Linked DNA regions of Homo sapiens: all the other regions are linked to region 1. The links are contacts of gene promoters, found by promoter capture Hi-C in blood cells and fetal thymus (Javierre and others, 2016). All regions are on one chromosome and are shown on one strand. The core of a region is centred on a gene start or on the middle of the fragment in contact, and the rest is flanking DNA. Distances in the headings are between cores, read along the strand shown. Region 1 holds the start of NUDCD1 (NudC domain containing 1). Region 2 holds the start of MED30 (mediator complex subunit 30). Region 3 holds the start of RAD21-AS1 (RAD21 antisense RNA 1). Region 4 overlaps UTP23 (UTP23 small subunit processome component). Region 5 overlaps EIF3H (eukaryotic translation initiation factor 3 subunit H). Region 6 holds the start of SLC25A32 (solute carrier family 25 member 32).

Region 1 (3,520 bases), core at 742-3,241:
ATAGGGTAGTGAACAAAAGAAAAACATCACTGTTTTCAAGGAACTCATAGTCTAGTGGAGGAAACAGACAACAAATCAAGATAGAATTTAAAAGGCCGATAAGTACGTCTTATGGAGAATGCAATGACGAAGCCCAAAAGTGAAGGCAGGAAGGCTAGTCAGGAGGCTACTAGAGTTCAGGTAAGAGATAACTCTGATTTGGATTAGGGTGGAGGCCTAGAGATATCAAAATGTGGAGCTGACCGGACTTGCTACCAAGCAGACAGTGGCTAAAAGAAATAAACCCCAAATGACTCTGGCACAAGTGTCTCTTGGTACCAACCTGGGCTAGTCTAGTCGGCTAAAGGATAAGAGACCACACGGAGAAAAGTCAAGAGGAGACCATGTGAAAGAATCTTAAACAAGCTTATAGTCTGAGACCCTACCCCCACCCTCCAAACATATGAGGAAGTCCAGCCAAATGAGCAGAGCTTCCCAGCAGATCCATTACTGAACAAGGATGCATCAATGAGCCCAACTAGGACTAGAAGAACCACTCAGCTGACCCGTAGACTTGTGAGCAATAATAACTGCTTCTTGTTTTGAGACACTGAATTTTGGCTTCACTTTCTAATGCACTAACTAAACATGGTGATACCATCTACTGACATGGGGTGACTGGAAGAAACACGGTGGCAAAGAGGAAAAGGAAAAAAATAAAAAGAAAAATCAAGCTTATCCTCTCTCATCCTAGTCAACTCTTAACCTACCCTTCAAAGCTCAACTTAGATATTAACTCCTCCAAGACGCCTTCCCAGATCCCCAGACTAGTTTAGGAAAGATATTCAAGTACTACCATTGTATTTTGTACATATCCCTATCACTGCCTTCCCATATTGTTTTACAATTATCTGTTTACAATTTTCTTCCTAACTAGCTAATAGTCCTCTTTTGTTACGGAAGGTGTCTTGTTCATTTTGATATTATCAGGACGTAACACAAAACAGGTACTCGGTAAATATTTCTGAATTTAATAAATCAATTAGCATAAACTTATTTTATACTTTAATGTCTGTTATTATAATTAACTGTAGATCACTATTTCTCAAAGTGTGATCTCTGAAAACATGCATCAGAATCAGCAGGGGTGTGAATTTTAAAATGCAGATCTCTGGGCTCTATCATAACGAAAATGCCGTTAAGTTGTAAAAACAAGAGTAAGGATATTCTACCAGCTACAGATAAAGCAAGGAGTAGCAGTGTGGGAGTAAATCCACTTTTCCTCACTATCTTCTAGAGATGTTCTCTACCAGAGTTCTTAATGTGCCAGGAACTGAGTAATTAAAAATGCTATGACTGGAATGTAGTTTCTCTTCTAAGAAACGGCTCTCGGTCAGAGGAAACAGGAACTGGGGGTCCTCCAAGGAGGTGTGGTTTCTCAACGCACACGTTCACAAGCGATGCTCCAGGAGGAAGGAATGTTCTCAGCGTCCCCCGAAACAGAAGCCAGGCTGTGGACACACAGCAGCCAGAGCCCCAGGCACTACCCGCACGCCAGCCCTCAGACCTCAGACCTCAGAGGCTGGGCTGCTGACGGAGGGGGCCCAGGGTCCCGTTACCGAAGAGCGCGCGAAGGCGGCTCCCACCGGGTTCTGGGATGGGCATCATTCCCCAGAAGCAGCGGCCTCCGTGAGTCCACGCAAGCCGCCACGGTGGCTTCGCTTGCCAGTCAGAAAGAAAGAAATTGCGGGAAGGGTCAGGCCGGAGGCAGCCGAAAGGGGAAAGGAACGGAGTACGAAGGGCGCCGCCGCTTCCCACCTGCGTCAAGCTCCAGCTGGTAACAAGGCAGCGGCTCAAGAGAGAGCTTGTAACCCTCGAAGCGGGGATCCAACAGAGGTCTCTTCACCCGTAGGGAGCAATTAGCCGCCACCTCCATCGCTTTCCAGGGCCGCAGCGTGAGAATTAATAAAGCCCTTGTTGAAAGGTCCGCGCTTCACGCCTCGCACAGAGACTGGGAAGCGGCGTGGTTCCCATCCCAGAAAACACTGCGGTGCGAACTGCCTTCTGGGAAATGTAGTGTCCGTGAAAAAGTTGAGACTGTTGCATGCTGGGCTATGTAGTTCTCCTGGTACTTAACGCGCGCGCGACGGCAAGGTCTGAACTCTGTTACCCAGAGGCCCTAGCAACCAGGAGGCGGCCCGCGCTGGTTAAATTCTCACATTATAGGCAGGGTGGCGAGACCCCGCCCCGGAAATGCGTGTTCTAGCTTTCTGTGTGCTTAGGTGCCCGAGCTACTGAGGGTCTAAGTCCGGGCAGCCGAAGAGTGTGGTAGGTAACGGTCCTCAGCGCAAGGGTCATTTCGTCGCTGGGAAGGGACGGCCCTCGCCCGCGGTGATGGTGGTGAGCTATGCCCGTGGTCCTCAGGGCCGGGACCCGGGCCCAGCCCAGGCTCCTTTCGATGTACTGTCTTTCGTTAGCGTCCCCGACCCGCGCTCGCGGGCCTGTAGGGCTCTCCGACAGGGCGTGCTACCGGAGTTGGCCTGAAACCAGTCCTCGCTTTGTTTTCTGGCTCCTCCTCTCCCGCCTCTCCCGCTGTCTCCGCCCTGTTCTATTTTCCCTAAGAATGTCTGAACTGGGAGGGATACCCTAGCGCCCTTGTTTTACCAGTGAGAAAACTGAGGCCTTTAAGAATTAAGTGACTTGTCCAAGGTCACTATCCGTATTTTAGGAGCCAAGACGAGATCAAGTTCAATATTCCAGGAGTGGTACTGACTAGACCTTGTAGTTATTTTGAAAATGTTAGCCTCCAATTACAAAAGCAAGCATTTCCTAGTTCTCACTCAACTTCTCCTTTTCCCTGTTCCTCTCAAAAAAGAAAAAAAAAATCAACTCTGGTAACTCATTGCCAGTCTGAATTTTCAATAGGCCAGATGGAAGACAACAAAAGTAATCTCAAGTTAGTGACAGATTAGGTGGGAAAACGTTAGTTTACGCCAAGTTTTATTTAATTTAAACTTTTAAGTGGCTTTAACGCTTTCAAAACCTAACTTTCCTCTTCTTTCAACATCATTTTGGTTTGGGTTGTCTGTTTTTACTGACAATTGAGGACTTTGTAAGTTAGGAATTAGTTTGAGATTTGTTTTCTTCTTATCCCACCAGCAGTGTGTGTGTAAACACACACATCCACACACTTAGGTTTAGCAGTTGTAATTGTGGGTTCATCCTAGTGAAGAGTAAAGCAAAACACTTAGAGCCTTATCTAGTAATTTTATTTTTTTTGATTAATTAATTTTTTTTTTTTTTTTTGAGACAGAGTCTTGCCCTGTCACCCAGGCTGGAGTGCAGCAGCGCAATGTCGGCTCACTGCAACCTCTGTCTCCTGGGTTCAAGCGATTCTCCTGCCTCAGCCTCCTGAGTAGCTGGGATTACAGACACCTGCCACCAAGCCCAGCTTATTTTTCTATTTTTAGTAGAGACGGGGTTTCACCATCTTGGTCAGGCTGGTCTTGAACTCCTGACCTCGTGATCCACCTGCCTGGGC
Region 2 (3,520 bases), core at 259-2,758, 8.2 Mb after region 1:
TTCAGGTGTTGGCACTGGCCTTCCTCGTCCTCATAGAAAAGACTCTATCATTCGTTACTCCCTTCCCTATCCACCTTCAGGTTCCACACTGCTCCCTTCAGGTCGTTCTCAATCTCCTAAATTGTTAGCACCCTGATATCAGGAACTTTTGCTTCAAGACGCTCATCACAATAGTGTTCTGTTTGTCCCCATGACAAACATGCTGCAGGGCTTTTGCCTGGTTTGTTCAGTACGCTATCTTCACTCCTAGCACCCAGCACATAATAGGTGCTCAGCCAATATTTGTCGAATGGTAATTACCGAAGACCTGCGAATTACTATGTTTAAAATCTCTACCAGGGTTCCTATGACATATTTAGTAACTATTTCCTGGAAAGTCCGTACAATGGAGCATTCAGATACTTCTAAAAAATGCAATGTTTGTGCCTATCACTAATTTTACATTCTTCACTTTTCCCCACTTTGGAGATGAACAGTAAGTGAGAGACATTGTGAGAGACATTTTAATTTCTCTTGCATTTATCATGTCACTCAACAATCATTCAATAAGTATTTATTGATACTTGTGCCAATCACTAGGTGTTGAGAATAAGTGAATAAAATAGTCTGTTTTCATGGAGTTGGCAGTGTGTGTAGATAGGGTGAGATAAAGTCTGAAAGTAAACAAACTGAAAGCTATATAAAATATCAGACAGTAGGCCGGGCGCGGTGGCTTATGCCTGTAATCCCAGCACTTTGGGAGGCCGAGGCGGGCGGATCACGAGGTCAGGAGATCGAGACCATCCCGGCTAACACGGTGAAACCCCGTCTCTACTAAAAATACAAAAAATTTGTCGGGCGTGGTGGCGGGCGCCTGTAGTCCCAGCTACTCGGGAGGCCGAGGCTGGAGAATGGTGTGAACCCGGGAGGCGGAGCTTGCAGTGAGCCGAGGTCGCGCCACTGCACTCCAGCCTGGGTGACAGAGCGAGACTCCATCTCAAAAAGAAAAAGAAAAAAAAATCAGACACTAATAAGAGCCAGAGTCAGAAAGAAGTGTGTGTGTTGATCATTTTTTTTGCTTACAGATACTGGGAAAACTCAAAGAATAAAACATCTGAGCAGGGACCAAGAGCAATCGGGGAGTCCGTATCATGTCACAGAGAAGCGTACAAGCTTAGGAATCTTGTTTTCTGAATTCGAATCGCAGGTTGCCAGTTACACCTGTATGCGACTCAACAAGTACTTTAACCTGTCTCTTAGCTGTTATACTACAAACCTCAGGCTTGTTAAGAGAAAATGCTCCGCAAGGAACTAAACACAGAAGGTTCTAACGCTGAGCCAAGACTGGGAAACGAACTCTGGGAACTCACCCCAGGCTCCCCAAGAACATCGCCCCTCTGGCTGGAGCGCAATTGGTGATTGGCTACTTAACCCGTCCGTCCTTTCCCGCCCAGGGGTCCAATCCAATCCAGCCCGGCTCCGCTCGGAGACAGTTCGCCGAGTGGGCGGTGTCTATGACGTTTTCTGACGTGTTACGTCACAGTGGGCGGAAGTCGCGGCCGCTGTTTTGAAATCGGGCCGCGGGGGGTCTCTCAAGCTGGTTCCAACGCTGAGGCCCCACAGCCTCCCAATTCCGGGCAGACCCCTGACACCTGCTGTCTGGCCCCTTCCGGCCTGAAGCTGCAGCCGCGCCATGTCCACCCCTCCGTTGGCCGCGTCGGGGATGGCGCCCGGGCCCTTCGCCGGGCCCCAGGCTCAGCAGGCCGCCCGGGAAGTCAACACGGCGTCGCTGTGCCGCATCGGGCAGGAGACAGTGCAGGACATCGTGTACCGCACCATGGAGATCTTCCAGCTCCTGAGGAACATGCAGGTAGGAAGGCGGGCGCGCGAGGCCAGGGGGATGCAGCTGGGAGGGAAAGGGCCTCTGGTTTCCTCTTTACGTGGGGCCCGTGGATGTCATCGGGGCTGCCCTGGGCAAACCTTAGGTGTAGGGTCTCCCCCATTCACACTCAAGAGTGTCCCCAAAAGTCGGATTTGTAGAGGTGATGTTTTCCAGACCAGATTTCTGCAGAATTGAAGCCAATTTTTTTTAGATTCAATCGAGCTCTTTAGTTACTCTGTAAACTCTTGCACCTTTCAAGGCAGAGATGGGTCGCACTCCACTTCCCTCTTTAGGTTGCTTTAAATGTTTTTTCCAGCATTTCTTCTGGGGAGGTCCAAGGAGTTGAAGAATTTACATTTTTTTTAAAAAAACAGTCCTCCTTTTTTTGGCATAGTTAATATACAGTAAACTACACTCACCTAAAGTTTTGATATATATGTGTACTGTAGTCTGTATACTTGTGAAATTATCACCACAATCAAAATAGTGTACACATCATCCCAGAAAGTTTCTTCATACCCCTCTGACATCTTTGCTTCCCACCTTCCATCGCTAAGCAACCATTGATCTGCGTTCTGTAATCATAAATTAATTTGCATTTGCTAGGGTTTTATATAAACGGAGTCTACAGTATGTGGGCTTTTTTTTTTGTCTGAGATCCTTCACTAAGAATGCATCAATAATTTCCTTTTTATTGCTGAGTAATGTTCCATTGTATCCATGTATCACCATTTGCCTACCTTTTCTTCTGTTGATGGACATTTGGGTTGTTTCCACTTTTTGGCTGTTGTAAATAATGCTGCTATGAACTTTTGCTGACAAATTTTTGTGTGAACGTATGTGTCATTTCTCTTGGACAGATTCAGGAGTGGAATTGCTGGATCATGCAGTACATGTCTGTTTAATACTTTAAGAAACTTTTCCAAAGTGGCCTGAGCCATTTTACGTCCCGATTATTGCTAGTGGGAATGTAAACATTGCTGTTTGAGGGTTCTAGTTTCTCCTCATCCTCATCAACACCTGTTATGTCTTGATGCTTTCCAAATACTTCTCCCAGTCTATCCTGCCTTTTTATTCTCTTAATACTGTCTTTTGAAGAACAGACATTTTAAATTTTGATGGAATCCAGCTTACTGATTTGTTCTTTTATAGATTTTGGTTTTGCTGTCATACCTAAGAAATCTTTGCCTAACCCAAGGTGACAAAGGGTTTCTGTTTTCTTCTAGAAGTTTTGTACTTTCAAGCTTTATATTTAGGTCTACAACCTATATTTAGTTTTGTGAGTTTTTAAATATGTATACATAGTGGCAGATACGGATCCAAGTTCATTGTTTTGCATTTGGATATCCAGTTGTTCCAGCACCATTTTGCTGACCCATTTTTAATGCTTGCTTATATTACCCACTACATGTAGTAGATATTATTTTTGTTTTACAGATGAAGATTCTGTACTTCAGAGAGATAAAGTGACTTGCCCAAACCTAGTCAGTGGTAGGGTAAATTTGAAACCAAGTTTTCAAAAATCTTACAGCTCTTATTTCTGTGGGTGTCCAAAAAAGTGTTTTATTGCTTTTTTTTTTTTTAACTGGTCAAGACTTTTTTTTTCGTCCTGATTATAAGAGTAATTCAGTTTCGTGGAAATTTTTAAGACCATGTGAA
Region 3 (3,520 bases), core at 501-3,000, 7.5 Mb after region 1:
CTAACCTTTATGCAGTTCAGTTTCCCTACTATGAAAACCTGAAAGGTTGAAATCTGGTGGTTTACCTAACCTTTGAAAACGTCAATACCTAACTCAGATCAGAACGGAGCTACCTCTTCAGGGGAGTAGGGGGAAGGATCTCTGAAGATATTTCTAACCCTGCACACTAGAAATCTCCTCTGTTTTGGTTCTAACATCCTTTGACCAAGAGTTTTACAATCAGACAGTCGTAGGTTCAAATTAAGCTCCCTCTTTGCTCAGTTGTTTTGTAACGGTGAATAAGTTACTTCTCAACTATAAACTGGGATAATATTCATCAAAAAAGATTATGAAAATTAAATACAAGGGCACACCTAACATAGTGCCACTGCTGATGCGAAAAGTAACTCTGAAGACAATCTTGCAGCAAAACATTAACCAGCCAGTATAATCATGCCTAACAACTCTGGTTTGACATTTAAACTAAAAACACAACCTTATTTCTCAAGAATTAGAAAATTTCCATTCTGTACCAAACTGTAAAAGCGTTTCTTAGAATTTGTATGTTTCACAAAATAATTCACCAGAAATTCTTTTGTAATTCTGACTTGTGTATAAAAAAAAGCACTATGTCTATTAGTTATGCACTGCTGTCACCTCAACTATACAAACTGTTAACTTATTTGAAGATCAGATATGGCGTATGTCCTCATCAATGCCTTTCCAAAAATAATTAGTTGCCTCCGACATTAACAAAGGTATTTAATGACTTCACGATTTGAGAAACCTTCTCCTGCCTGTCTCCAAAATTCTATAGACTCGCACTGCCCGCTGGCATTTACACCCAATTTAAGAAAATAGAAATTTTTGCCTGAAAACCAATTACTCTTCTAACCAGTATAATGACAACAAAGATTAACTTTCCCTTGCAAAAAGAAGCCGATAAACACAAGCCTTTCCCAGAAACTCTTCGCACAAACGCTGTTTTTTTTTTCACGCTGAAGACACTAACAAATCAGAGTGACCAAGTAAATCCCCCAGGGTTTCCCTCTTACAAATTTGAAGAAGGCCGCTAAGTCTGGCAGCACAACCCGACAGTGTCACCCCACACTATCAAAGCGGATCATTCGCAAAAAGCCTTTTTCAGCGACGAAAAGGGCATCAAGCATTTATCAGAAACACACACCTCCCCCAGAGCGTCTCTACAACACCCGATATCCTTAATCACTTTAAAGAATGATCAGAAAAGTTCAGGGGAAAACCAATTATGCAAATATCCTTGGAAAAAGAAGCAACTTCCCTCCGTCTCTTTTTCCACGCGTCTGTGAAATATTCAGCATTCCCAACGTAAAAATTATCTTTTTAAAACGGGAGGGCAGCAGCAGTCACTGGCCGAGGGGCACCCGCCGACCCCCCGCCCCACCCCGCCCAGCCCCACCAGCTCCGCACTTTCTTGAGCCCCGCACCCGAGTTCGGCGGAAGGTTGCTGCTCCCGGGGCTGGCACCGCGGGCGCCGGGCCCGCCACCGCCTCCTCCCAGACAGCCATTTTTACCCGCGGAGTAGGCGGCCCGGTCCCCAGAGCGGGCTCGTTCAAACCTCCTCCCCTCCCTCCGCAGCCCAGGGTTTCCCCGGCCTCCTGGGGGACGTGAGATGGACCTGCAGGGTAACAGCCTTTGTAGATCTCAGAATGGATCAGAATCATTTGTTACCGAACAAGCGATGATGCGGGCCCAAGCTGCATGGGTCCGGGCCGAGGGCGGGCCCGGGGCGAAGGGGGCTGGGCGGGTGGCGCCGCCGCTTGGGCGCCGGGAGGGTGGCAGCACGCGTGGGCGCGGCGAGGGCTGCCTTCTCCCTCGCCCTCCCGCCCCCAGGAGTCCGGCTCCCCGACGGCAGAGCGGCGGGGAAAGGGTGGGGGGAGGGAGCTGGAGGAAAAGAAGGGGTCGGCCGAGTCTCTTACCTTGCTCTCCGCTGGGAGTTGGGCGGGCTGGGTGGCCCGGGGAGGGGAAAAGGGTCGGGGGAGGGGGTGGGGAAAGGGGGGAGCCCTTGCGAGGTGTAGCTTCCGAGCAGCTCCCGCCGCCGCCACAGCCGGCGCCTCCTTTCCGATTCACTCAAACAAACAAGATGGCTGCCGTTACGCCGCGGCTCTTCCTGCCGCCCAAATCCTCGGTTCAAATCGGCAGGATGTTTACGGTCAAAATGGTACCTGTGCGCCTGCGCAGCCAGCCCAAGCCCCCCCCTCCCCCCAGAAGGAGCGGCGCAGGCGCAATGACTATTTCCTTTTCTTTGGAACCCGCCCTCTGTTTGTGGAGTCCACAACTGAGCAAGCGCAAAGGTGATTCTCTTGCGAGGGTCTTTGAGAGTTGCGGTGTTAGCCAATAGCGTAAGATAGCGCACGCGCAGTGCTTTCCAGTGCGGTGAATATTTGCGTTTAGCTTTATTCTTGTGCTTGTTTTAAAGAAAAAAGCTGTCGTGGTGCAATTTTGTGTGCCCCCACCAAAAAATTCATTTTATGGCTCTATAGGGATGAAAGTAACATAAAAACCTCAAACTAATTCCATAAAATATAGAGGTTCATTTATTCAGTCAACCTATATTATAGAGGGTCTTCTGTTTGCTACACGTTGGGCTCTGGATATAATGATTAATATAACAGAGATAATAACTGCCTTTTGGAAATTTTCAGTATTGCTTGGGAGGAATCTTAAAATTTCTTATCTTAAAAGACTTACTTGTACCACGAAGAAATTTACTTTTGTTTTTATTGTAGAGATCTTTCCAGTGATGAAAGAAATTGAAGAGGACACACAAAAATGGAAATATATTCCATGTTCATGGATTGGAAGAATCAATATTGTTAAAATTTCCATACTACCCAGAGCAATCTACAGATTCAATGTAATCCCTATCAAAATATCAATGACATTCTTCACAGAAAGAGGAAAAAAATCCTAAAATTTATATGGAACCACAATAAGACCAAGAATAGCCAAAGCAATCCTGAGCAAAAGAATAAAGCTGGAGGCATCACATTACCTGACTTCAAATTATACTACAAAGTGATAGTAAACAAAACAGCATGGTGCTGGCATAAAAACAGACACATAGACTAACGGAACAGAATAGAGGACCTATAAATAAATCAATACATATACAGTCAACTAATTTCTGACAAAGCTGCCAAGAACATACGTTGGGAAAAGGATGGTCTCTTCCAAAAATTGTTCTGGAAAAACTAGATAACTATATGTAGAAGAATGAAACAGATCACTATCTTTTGCCATATTAAAAAAATCAAAACAAAATGGCTTGAAGACTGGAATCTAAGATTTGAAACTATTGAAACTACTAGAAGAAAACGTTAGGGAAATGCTCCAGAACCAAATATTTCTTAGTAAGACCTTAAAAGCATAGGCAAGCAAAGCAAAAATGGACAAATGGGATCATGCCAAGCTAAGAACCTTCTGCAAAGCAAACAACAAAGTGAAGAGACAACCCATCAAGTGGGGGAAAATACTTGCAAACTACTCATCTATCACAGAA
Region 4 (3,520 bases), core at 610-3,109, 7.4 Mb after region 1:
CACAAGGTGGGCCCGGGGGGCTGGGGAGGAGGCACAGAGGGTCCGTCGGGTGTTGTAGAGGCGAGGCCGTTGCTCACAGACCTTCATTGCGAGCTCAGGAGGTGCAAAACGCCCCGCCCACGTGGAGTTGACAGTTAAGTGGAGAGGTGAAGGTGGTCAGGCGAATACCTATAATAGAGGCAGATTGGACAGTGCCCTGTGAATATCACGTGTCGTTAGCCTGGCGAATGAGAGCACATTATAGCAGAGAGATCCGACTTCGAATCTTGATCCCAGTTCTACCAGCTCTGTGATTTCTGTCAAGTTATTTAGCCTCTCTGAGCCTCGGATTCCTCATTTGTAAAATAAAGATGATAACTGCTTAGAAGATTGCTGTAAGCTCAAACGAGTATAGTGTACTAGAGCATTTTTCGGTATCCAAAGTGTACCCGTCTTCAAATGGTTGCTGTCATTTGCATAGCTTTTCTTAGTTTAAACCAAAACTCTGCAAGCCTCACAGTGAACCTGTGAGTTACCATCTTTGATGTCCAGGGCAAAAAGTCAGTACTTGAGATTAAGGAATCTGCCCAAGCACATTTGTTTATTCAACTCGCTTTATTAAGTACCTCCTATATGCCACATACTGCTCCCTCATGGCCAGTAAAGTGCATAAGTCAGTCTGCAGTGTGTGTTTTCACTCTAGGTCTGATGTTTCCCCACTTCATTGAAATGTGGGAACACTTAGGATGGAAGCTTGTCGGGATGAAGAGGAGAGAGGAGAGAATTGTGACAGATTTCAGATAACATTTGAGCCCATTCACTTGTTCAGTTCTGAGAGGAAGAACTATTTTGAATGACAGAAAAGAATGACACTTCTTGTTGTGGAGACCTCTTCACACGAAATGGAGTTATGAAATGCCTGGGAAAGAGGTTGCAGCACAGAATATATTTGGGAGTGAAACTAGGAAGAAGGCAAATTGAGGCTAGGCCATGAAGAACTATTAAGAAATTTAGTAGTTTTTTCATTGTAGAATATTTACTTTTAAAAAGCAAAAAAAGAAAATTAAAATGACTCATAATACCACTACTCACGAATAATCACTGTTAACATGTGCAGTGTCATCCATCCAGTTCTTTATACACACTCACACAAGCACAAGAATGGACTTTTAAGCCAGGCAAGGTGGCTCACACTTGTAATCCTAGTAGCTACACAGGAGGCTGAGACAGGAGGGTTGCCTGAGTCTAGGAGTTTGAGGTGAGCCTGAGCAACGTAGGAAACCCCCATCTCTAACTACAGCCATAACAAAGTATGGGCTTTTTCTGTGTATACTGTGTTAATAGTCTCCTTTTCCTCACATACGATTACTTAATGAACAGCTATCTGTATTTGTTCAGAATTTCTCAAGCAGGGTCTCGGCTGGGTTACAGATACCCCCAAAGTTTTGATCCCCTTAGTCTTTAGGGCTGTCTAACAAATCCTTCAGTAGTCTTTGCTCCTGAATTGATTGCTTTTGTCTACAAGCAATTTGTCCATATACTCCTGTGTGCCATAGAAATATTAACATTTTAAATATAGTGCTATGATATTAAAAAGGTTGAGAAGTGCCACATAAAATTATATTCTACAGCAATTTTTCTAACAAATTTATTTTAACTCTGGAATTTTTCAGACAACTCAAAGGTAGAATAATATAATGAAACCTCTCTCCAGCTTTTGCAGTTATTAACATGGCCAATCTTGTTGAATCCCTCACCTCTCCTTACTGATGGGTTGCTTTGGAGCATATTATTTATCACTTCTTTGGCATGTATCTTGAAAAGATAAAGAAGGCTTTTAAAAATCAGTATTCAAACTAAATACATATATTACATTTGATTTATATGTCACTTAAGTTTTTTAAAAAAATTTATTTTTGAGATGGAGTCTCACTTTATTGCCCAGGCTGGAGTGCAGTGGTGCGATCATGGCTCACTGCAGCCTCCGCCTCCCGGGTTCAAGTGATTTCCCTACATCAGCCTCCCAAGTAGCTGAGATTACAGATGTGTGACACCACGTCCTACTAATTTTTGTATTTTTTAGCAGAGACAATGTTTCACCACGTTGACCAGGCTCGTCTTGAACTCCTGACCGCAGGTGATCCACCCACCTCGGCCCCCAAAGCATGGGGATTACAGGCATGAGCCACCATGCCAGGCAGTTTTTAAAAATTTTGGCAGTTTCCCCTCCCTTTAAATTTTGCAATTTATGTTTTTAAGAAATCAGGTCATTCGTTTTTCAGTGGAATATATTTCTTGGCCACTAGTAGTTAGGTCTCTACAGAGTTTACTGATATTCAGGTTTGAAGATGTGTGGAGTTAATTGATGAAGTAGAACAGCAGAATGTTATCAGGCCTGGGTTTTATTTTAGAAAAGATAACTGCAGTGATGTGAAGGGTAAATTGGAGAAACAAGAGAGCAAAGGCATGAATCTGTTTTGCGGTTGTTTAATCAAGAAGTAAGGGGAGCCTAAACCTGGGAGAGGAAAGGCAGGAACCCAAGGGTTCTCCAAAGAAACGCTACGTTACTGAGATAGATAGGTTGAGCAGCTGATGGCATAGGAGTATGGGTGAAGAAGGGCAGGAAGGTCAAATGTGATTTCTGATTTCTATCTAGGGTGTCTGGGAAAATAGTAATTTCAAAGAGATAGCAAGTCTTGGAGGATAAATTTGGATACAGGAAAGTGGTTTGATCTTAGACATGGTGAATTTGAAGAGTTGATAGCAGGACATCCACAGGCTGGCAGTACTCAAAATAGAGGTCAAGTCTAATGACTAAAGCAAGCAAAATCTTCTTGAAACAGAAAGATGATAAAGGAGATGAAGCAAGAAAGAATCTGGCAAATGCTGGCTAGGGTTGAGGAACTCTTATGACTAAATGTTTTTTTAAAAACAACTTGATGATGTGAGAAGTTTTACTGTTCTGAATTGAAAATGTTTTGAAAGTATACCAATTTGTACTTGAAGCAGAAGCTTATTACGCTATGGTTGGGACAAGGGAGCTGTTGTCAAACTGCAAGTCTCGGTACCACTTGCTAGTTACTTGAACTTTGGCATGTTACTTGAAATCTCAGAATGGGGTGCTCTAAAATAAGGATAATTTCAAGGTAAGCGACCTAACTTCATAGGGTTACTTTGAGATTAATCAAGAATTTATGTAAAGAGCAATTTGCATACTACATGGAACATAATAAGTGCTCAGTTAATTTTAACTGTTGTTCTTCCTACTTGGTAAATGCATTTTTCAAGTGATCTTTTAAAGTAAATGGTTACCAGATGACAAATTTAGATTGTAACAGCATAGTTTTATTTTAAGAAAAAATCGACTATTGTTTTTTACACCTTATGTAAACAAGTGAAATGTATCTGCTATAATTTTTCTTTTCAGATGTGTGTTAAAAGAGCTAGAAACATTGGGAAAGGACTTATATGGGGCAAAACTGATTGCACAAAAATGCCAAGTTCGAAATTGTCCTCATTTCAAGAATGCAGTGAGTGGATC
Region 5 (3,520 bases), core at 416-2,915, 7.4 Mb after region 1:
CAGAATGAAGACCCATTCTTTCTTTATTTTTGTTTTTTTTCTTTTAACTCATCTGTATTTGTTACAACTTTAAGCAGAATGTGACTCAGGCACTACATTTCCATCCACAAGACTAGCTCTGAGTTATTTTTGAACAGCTTTACGACATGCTTAGGTAGGCTTATAACTTTGCTCCTCCAAATGATACTTTTCTTTGGAAAACAAGCCCTGTGGAGGGCTTACTTTTCTTTGGAAAACAAGCCCTGTGGAGGGACTGCTACATTACAGATACAGAGGAAGTGATGAAACAGGTCTAAAGGTAGGAAAGGAAGGGTTCAAAAATACAAGAAAAATTGGTCTTGGCCACTATCAATGTGCCAGGAAGGAACAAATGTGTTAAAACATCAGGCTAAACATAGGATGAGATTAATCTCTGGGTTCATCTACATCTATATATGACTGAGAATGGTCATGAGAGTCGGGACTGGGTTCTACCTTGCTCACCTATATAATATCTTATATAGGTTACTGCAATATACCCCAGCATGTAGCAGGGCTAGACCTGGCATGTGGTCGGCAATCAATAAATATTTGTTAAATGAATGAAGAACAGAATACATCTGGAGTATACAGATTCAAGTTAAACTATATGGAGAATTTTTAAAAAAACAGAGTAAGTCGATTAAGTCACATTTTTTATTCAATATGTGATGATGAAAGAGAACAATTTCAAAGAGAAAGAACTTCATGAACAAAAGCAAGGTCATGCTTACTGCTTTGAATAAGGATGTGACTCTAGGTCTGTCTTTAGCATGACTTTTTTTTTTTTTTTTTTTTTTCTGAGACGGAGTCTCGCTCTGTCGCCCAATCTGGAGTGCAGTGGTGCAATCTCGGCTCACTGCAAGCTCCGCCTCCCCGGTTCATGCCATTCCCCTGCCTCAGCCTCCTGAGTAGCTGGGACTACAGGCACCCGCCACCACGCCCGACTAATTTTTTGTATTTTTAGTAGAGACAGGGTTTCACCATGTTAGCCAGGACGGTCTTGATCTCCTGACCTCGTGTGATCTGCCTGCCTTGGCCTCCCAAAGTGCTGGGATTACAGGCGTGAGCCACCACACCTGGCCTTTAGCATGACTTATTAAAGAAAAAACTAAGTAGTCTGAGGGGCTGGAATGTACAGTTCCTACAAAGCTTGGAAAGAAAGGAAATAAACCTGAACATAAATGCAAGAAACAAGGACAACATTTTGGTCCTTCAATTCAATGGAAAGTCACTGAAAACATCTAAGGAAAGAAGTTAAAATCTGAATGTTCACGTTAAATAAACGTTTTAATAAAAGTATGAGGCCGGGCACGGTGGCTCACGCCTGTAATCCCAGCACTTTGGGAGGCCGAGGCGGGCGGATCACGAGGTCAGGAGATCGAGACCATCCCGGCTAAAACGGTGAAACCCCGTCTCTACTAAAAATACAAAAAATTAGCCGGGCGTAGTGGCAGGCGCCTGTAGTCCCAGCTACTTGGGAGGCTGAGGCAGGAGAATGGCGTGAACCCGGGAGGCGGAGCTTGCAGTGAGCCGAGATTGCGCCACTGCACTCCAGCCTGGGCGACAGAGCGAGACTCCGTCTCAAAAAAAAAATAAAATAAAATAAAATAAAATAAAATAAAAGTATGAATGGTAGACTGAAGAAGGCAGGGGAAAACAATATTAAAATAACCTGCATAAGATATTAGAACATAAATTAGTATAAATAATAAAATGGAATACATACTCATTCATTTATCCTACTTTGTGAATTAACAGGTTCAGCACTGGAGATAAAACAGGTGAAAAAGCATAGTCCCTGCCCTCAGTAGCATACATTCTGATGAGGAAAACAAAGAAGAAAACAAACAAGATAGTTACAGGCTGTGGAAAATTCTAGAAATATAGGGTGCTGTGATGGAAAGTAAGGAGAAGAACAAGTCTATAATTCTATTTTGTACATGTTAAATATGAGATGCCTATGAGATATCCAAATAGTGACGTCAAACAGGCAATGGGTATTCAAAAGAGGCATTCAAGAGCCATTACTGGCAGAAATATAAATCTAGGACTTATTAGAATATAAATATTTAAAGCCGTGAGCACAGATAAGAATACCTTAAAGAATACTACTATAATTACTGCAAATAAAGCAGCAGCAAAGCTTAAATGGTGACTTATTCTGTCCCAGACATTGTTCTAGTTATTGACATATATTCAATCCATTTAAAGTCTCAAAACAATTCAGATGAGGAAAATGAGGCACAAAGACTTGCCCAATGTCATGCAGCAAATTTCAGAGCTGGGATTCAAATCCAAGCAGTCTGGCTCCAGAGCATGTACTTTTATCAACTTCGTTACACTACCTATGTCAAGCAGAGACTAAAAGAAAAGCCAAAACCTAAACCATGAGGCACTCCAATATGCACAGATGGAGAAGAAACATAAAAGGAAAGGAGTAAGTGGCCTAAAAGGAAGGATAGTGATTGACTGGGGTCACACACCAATAAGAACCCTCAGGATTCAGGTATGAAAGCAAAAGAAAGAAACCATAAACCATGAAAATTGATAGGGATAGTGGCAATCATTTTGTGGATGAGAAAATGTACCTTTGGAGTAAAACAATCATAGAAGTGTTGTTAGTTACTGGTGGATGCAGACTGGAATGCATGTCTCCTGATTACCAGGAGCACTGAAGTGCTCTTTCTACAATTCCAATCTACATTAGCAAAGTTAGCATTCGAAATGATTTGAGAAACATTAATAAGGATGAGAGTGGTAAAGACACAGTAATCTGAGTGTTTACGATGACACAGGTACTATACTAAACACTTTAAATACCTCGGAATTTCATTCTCACAACCCTTATGAGTTACTACTTTATCATCATCCCCATTTTACAAAGGATACACCTGAGGCCTAGAAAATTTAATAACTTCCCCAAGGTCATGCTTACTGCTGGAATAAGGATCTGAATCCAAGTCTGTCGTCAAGATTCTCTTGGCTAGTATGTAATATTGCTTTCCTAAGAGTAACACTGTTCATCAAGACAGAAATGAAGAAAGAAAGAAAGAAAGAAAGAAAGAAAGAAAGAAAGAAAGAAAGAAAGAAAGAAAGAAAGAAAGAAGAGAAAGAAAGAAAGAAAGAGGGAGGGAGGGAGGGAGGGAGGGAGGGAGGGAGGGAGGGAGGGAAGGAAGGAAGGAAGGAAGGAAGGAAGGAAGGAAAGAGAGAGAGAAAAGAAAAGAAAAAAGAGAGAGAGAAGAGAAGAGTTTAAGGAAGGAGTTTTTTTTAAATTGTATCTGGGCAAACGTGGGTATACCTATCATCCATGTGGAGATAGTATTCAAGATGGATGATTCTTGGTTACTCCATCTGCAATAATCCATTAATAAAATTTAGAGTAACCAGTATTCCCTGTATTAACAATGTAAAACGCATAAAGAACATACCATTTAAATGTTCCCTACATGATTTATGGTAACTGGAAAACATTCACCATTAAAAAATGAGCAACCAAGAT
Region 6 (3,520 bases), core at 687-3,186, 5.9 Mb before region 1:
CCTCAGGAATGATATGCTTCAAAGCACTGTCTAAACTCATCAGGCCAACCACACTATTCTTCAATGATCACCTCGACTATCACCTCTTCTGCTCCTAGATAAAATGCTACTGAAGACAGACAGCAAGTCATACAGGCCTGCACCTGCAGGCAAGTCTAAAATTCTTCCAATGTTCAAACCATTGTATAACAGGTACTTATAGAGGTAATACGGTGAGGGGTTAAGTGCCAGAGGGTTCCAGAGTTAGATTACCTGGGTTTAAATCCCAGATCCATCTTTACAAACTTGTGACTTGGGCAAGTTAGTCAACTTCTGTTATCCTCATCTGTATAGCAGATATCATAAACTCACAGGATTGTTCCTGTGAATAGATTTACAGGATAATAAATGAGATAATGCATCTAAAGCATAGTTCACTGCCTTGCTCCTAGTAAATACTCGATAAAGATTACTTGTCAATAACATAATTATTTGTGCATGCATCATAAAACTTCATGACATTATATGTCTTTGTGGTGTTTTTTCTAGAGATAATACTCCATAATTTTCGATGATTTTCCTTCATAGAACGGGTTCTTGCTTCCTCTCCAGCTGTCAAAATATTAGCCCTTCTATGGGAAACCCCAAGCCCCAATCTTCCACTGAACCTTAAAGATACACATGGCCATCAGTAATGTAGAATTTTCTTAACGGTTTACCTGTATTTATATTTTGTTTTTGTATTTCTTGATTTTATGTTGTCTAGAATTACCTTTTATATGACTAAGTCTAACGCCTACAATTAAATTCTAAGTTCCCTGAAGGCAAGAACTTTATTAGATACTTCTGTAGCCCATACAGCAGTCTACAAATATTAAGAGAATATAAATCAAGTGAACTGAATTGCCTAATGCTAAAATAAACAACTTCTGTAGATTTAATTCTCAAGGCTGAACTTAACTTGTAATAACTTTATTTGGAAACTATTTTCTGCAATTTCAGTTATCAAAGATCATCTTTGAAACTCTTTCCAGACTTTAGTGTTGAGTTTAACTTCTAAAATGCTTTGTTAATTTCAACATACTCAATTCATCTAATACACTTAAAATAGTATTTCGATTCTAGCTATTTTTTCACAGAAACTTGTACCATTCTACAAATGCCAAAAAACAAACATTCAAGAGAATTCTATTCTAAATCTACTCCCAACCATTCGCTGAAGATTACGCCCTATCCCAATACTAGTCGAGCTGCCAAACCACGTGGGTATGCTAAGATTTCAAAGTTCCTCCAAGAGTGAATGATTTGCACGTGTGAGGACTAAACCTTAAAATGTGACAATCCCTTCTTTATTTTACAAATCAGGCTTTGAATCCCATCTTCTCTGCCAATGAGGATGTTTTTTCTCAGACTTCTCTACATACATGCCCCCTCTCTTAGTCTTGAGGAGCGGGGAAGATCGCAGGCCGACCCCTCCACCAAGCACCATTTCCTCAAATCTAGTTCAGGTTAGCCAACGCGGACAGCAACGCTCCCTTCAACGCTCCTCCTCCCCCTAGAACGGAAAAGACGGAGGAGATCCAGTTCGGGCTGACAGTGAGAGGATGCAGCCCGGTGTCTGGGCGGGCTCTTACCGGCGAAGCGGATCTTCACGAGGTCGAGCGGATGCAGCGCAAGGTTGGATAAGACGCCGCCGCTCACGCCCGCTATCAGGTTCTCATACCGGACGTGGCGGAATACCGTGCTCCACGCCGACGACCCGGACGCCGACTGGCCCTGGCCCGTCATAGGCTCGGGGCCCGTCGACACCACGGCGCCCAGGGCCGCGGAGGTGGGACGCGATGCAGTGGCCGCCACCGTGGCGACGGTCGCCCCTTGTGAGCGCAACCCCACCTCCGGGACCAACGAGAGGACTCTTATGCCCAAGGCGCGTGAGCGAAGCCGGAGACTCTAGTACTGAGGGGGCAAGAACGGGGCACAGACACTACGTCACGCCGGCGGAAAGCGCGATGGAGGGGAGGTCCCAGCCTCTCCCGAGTCTCCGCCCTGCCTCGCCCACAAATGCTCCAGCCCACGGACGCGGAAGCGACTGCACAGCTAAAGAACCGCCCCTTGCTAACGTTTGCCGGCAAAACTACGGAGCGGCGCAGGATCCAGTTGAGCCAGCAGGCCGCCGCTCCGCGAGTCACGTGACTGGAAGTAGTCTGGGAAAAGCGGAAGTCGCCTGTGGGAGGAGGTGGCGGTGGGCGGAACTCCTAGCGGACACCTCGTGGAGTCCGGCCGGAAGAGCAACCGAGATGAAGGTGAAGATGCTGAGCCGGAATCCGGACAATTATGTCCGCGAAACCAAGTTGGACTTACAGAGAGGTAAGATAAGTTGGTAGGGAGAAAGGGACGGTTTCCGCAAGTCGTTGGGTCTAGCCTCGGCTTTCGCGGAGTAAAGCCGGGGGAGGCTGGCACTCTGGTCTGGTTCTTTCTCAGTTACCTTTCGCTAAGGCAAACTTTGTGCTTACGGAGTCGCTGCGGAACTGGATGGATAGCAAGTAAAGTCTGTTCAAGTCCTTTTTCTAAGAATTTCCTCTAGTGGTGAGTGGGAAACAGTTGTCTATAGTGGAGAAAAATTCCAGCTGCTGCTCTGGGATTGTCTTCAGGTTCCTATTACTGAAAAGTGGACTTGAATGAGCCAAACTCGTGGGTTGAAGGGCTGAGAGTTAAACAGGCTTTTAAAACCTTCCTACTGCTCTTCTTGCCGCTTTACTACTTCACATTAGTTGTGGATGTTGGAAGAGACAAAGATGAATTTAAAAGCATCAGTTTTCTCTTACCATCCCTTAAGAAGTTTGATGAAAGAATGGTTAAATGAAATTAATTTATCCTTCCTGGTCTGTTCCCCCGTTAACATGCTAACCACTTATAAATTGTACTTTGTGATACCTAAATGACAAGGGACCAACCATGCGTAAGCAGATTGTTCTAAATAAAGAGAATAACAGGAGCAAAGGTCTTCAGGCAGGAATGAACCTAAGGCATAGAAAGAAGGGCTGTGTCATTAGTTTGAATGAGGAGTAAGCGAGATGAGATGAGGCGAAAACAGTATTTCACTATTTTGGTTGAGTAGGAGATATTATCAACATGTGTGTGAGCATTGCTAATAAGTCTCTGCTCAAAAGATGTTTACAGTTTGTCACAAGGCAGTAATGTTTCTAAAATATAAATTAGATTTGTCACTTGGATTTGGCATCGTTCCCAGTCCTTGAATCTCTGGTCCCACCTTCCTTGCCACTTTAGTCAGTCACTACGTTTCCCACAAGTGGTTTAGTATTCACCCTTGCAAATCTCAGTGCGTTTCAGTCATCTTTTTTAAGGCCTCCTGTGGCACACACCCTTACCCAGTTTAGCCGCTTTCTCTGGAAGACTTTCACCGAACAGTAATCTGTTCCTGCTTACCTCCTGCATGAGCCCCGCCCCCTTCAGCACCCGTCTTCTGTGATTCTATCACTTCTTCACAGTGTTTATCACATTGTCTCATGATTATTATTTT

Evidence for each region. The method cuts DNA at HindIII sites, captures the fragments that hold promoters and counts their contacts. A CHiCAGO score of 5 or more calls a contact.
Region 2: the fragment with the promoter of MED30 here is called in contact with the fragment with the promoter of NUDCD1 in region 1 in 2 of 17 cell types (activated CD4 T cells and naive CD8 T cells); the score reaches 6.6 in activated CD4 T cells.
Region 3: the fragment with the promoter of RAD21-AS1 here is called in contact with the fragment with the promoter of NUDCD1 in region 1 in 6 of 17 cell types (naive CD8 T cells, naive CD4 T cells, non-activated CD4 T cells and 3 more); the score reaches 15.2 in naive CD8 T cells.
Region 4: a contact is called between a fragment that was not itself captured here and the fragment with the promoter of NUDCD1 in region 1, in 3 of 17 cell types (non-activated CD4 T cells, total CD4 T cells and naive CD4 T cells). The highest score is 19.6, in non-activated CD4 T cells.
Region 5: a contact is called between a fragment that was not itself captured here and the fragment with the promoter of NUDCD1 in region 1, in 1 of 17 cell types (total CD4 T cells). The highest score is 7.9, in total CD4 T cells.
Region 6: a contact is called between the fragment with the promoter of SLC25A32 here and the fragment with the promoter of NUDCD1 in region 1, in 2 of 17 cell types (non-activated CD4 T cells and total CD4 T cells). The highest score is 6.6, in non-activated CD4 T cells.

Annotation. Positions count from the first base shown.
Region 1 is chr8:109,332,096-109,335,615 of GRCh38, forward strand. NUDCD1 (NudC domain containing 1) reads right to left here and starts at 1,992. Exons shown (of 10, transcript NM_032869.4): 1 at 1,798-1,992. The coding sequence starts at 1,915. It overlaps ENY2 (ENY2 transcription and export complex 2 subunit), which reads left to right and starts at 2,252. Exons shown (of 5, transcript NM_020189.6): 1 at 2,252-2,379. The coding sequence starts at 2,374. RefSeq lists enhancers at 1,684-1,733, 1,864-1,913, 2,096-3,018, 2,284-2,533. The HindIII fragment of the contact is 6,990 bases long and covers 712-3,520 here.
Region 2 is chr8:117,519,205-117,522,724 of GRCh38, forward strand. It overlaps MED30 (mediator complex subunit 30), which reads left to right and starts at 1,509. Exons shown (of 4, transcript NM_080651.4): 1 at 1,509-1,849. The coding sequence starts at 1,673. LOC105375716 (a long non-coding RNA gene) reads right to left here and starts at 1,516. Exons shown (of 7, transcript XR_928569.3): 1 at 1,350-1,516. The HindIII fragment of the contact is 1,953 bases long and covers 1,151-3,103 here.
Region 3 is chr8:116,872,674-116,876,193 of GRCh38, forward strand. It overlaps RAD21-AS1 (RAD21 antisense RNA 1), which reads left to right and starts at 1,751. Exons shown (of 2, transcript NR_033886.1): 1 at 1,751-2,312; 2 at 2,748-3,520. RAD21 (RAD21 cohesin complex component) reads right to left here and starts at 2,103. Exons shown (of 14, transcript NM_006265.3): 1 at 1,938-2,103. It overlaps MIR3610 (microRNA 3610), which reads right to left and starts at 2,127; the gene lies at 2,055-2,127. RefSeq lists silencers at 1,411-1,460, 1,621-1,940 and an enhancer at 2,051-2,100. The HindIII fragment of the contact is 5,133 bases long and covers 1-3,520 here.
Region 4 is chr8:116,766,786-116,770,305 of GRCh38, forward strand. It overlaps UTP23 (UTP23 small subunit processome component), which reads left to right. Exons shown (of 3, transcript NM_032334.3): 1 at 1-6; 2 at 3,407-3,520. Among named protein-coding and RNA genes, the nearest start is that of UTP23, 2.0 kb to the left of the region's middle. RefSeq lists an enhancer at 1-125. The HindIII fragment of the contact is 2,259 bases long and covers 731-2,989 here.
Region 5 is chr8:116,749,608-116,753,127 of GRCh38, forward strand. The region is part of intron 1 of EIF3H (eukaryotic translation initiation factor 3 subunit H); the gene reads right to left. Among named protein-coding and RNA genes, the nearest start is that of EIF3H, 4.5 kb to the right of the region's middle. The HindIII fragment of the contact is 994 bases long and covers 1,169-2,162 here.
Region 6 is chr8:103,413,171-103,416,690 of GRCh38, forward strand. SLC25A32 (solute carrier family 25 member 32) reads right to left here and starts at 1,937. Exons shown (of 7, transcript NM_030780.5): 1 at 1,614-1,937. The coding sequence starts at 1,767. DCAF13 (DDB1 and CUL4 associated factor 13) reads left to right here and starts at 2,216. Exons shown (of 11, transcript NM_015420.7): 1 at 2,216-2,346. The coding sequence starts at 2,277. RefSeq lists enhancers at 1,603-2,224, 1,958-2,297. The HindIII fragment of the contact is 9,226 bases long and covers 1-3,520 here.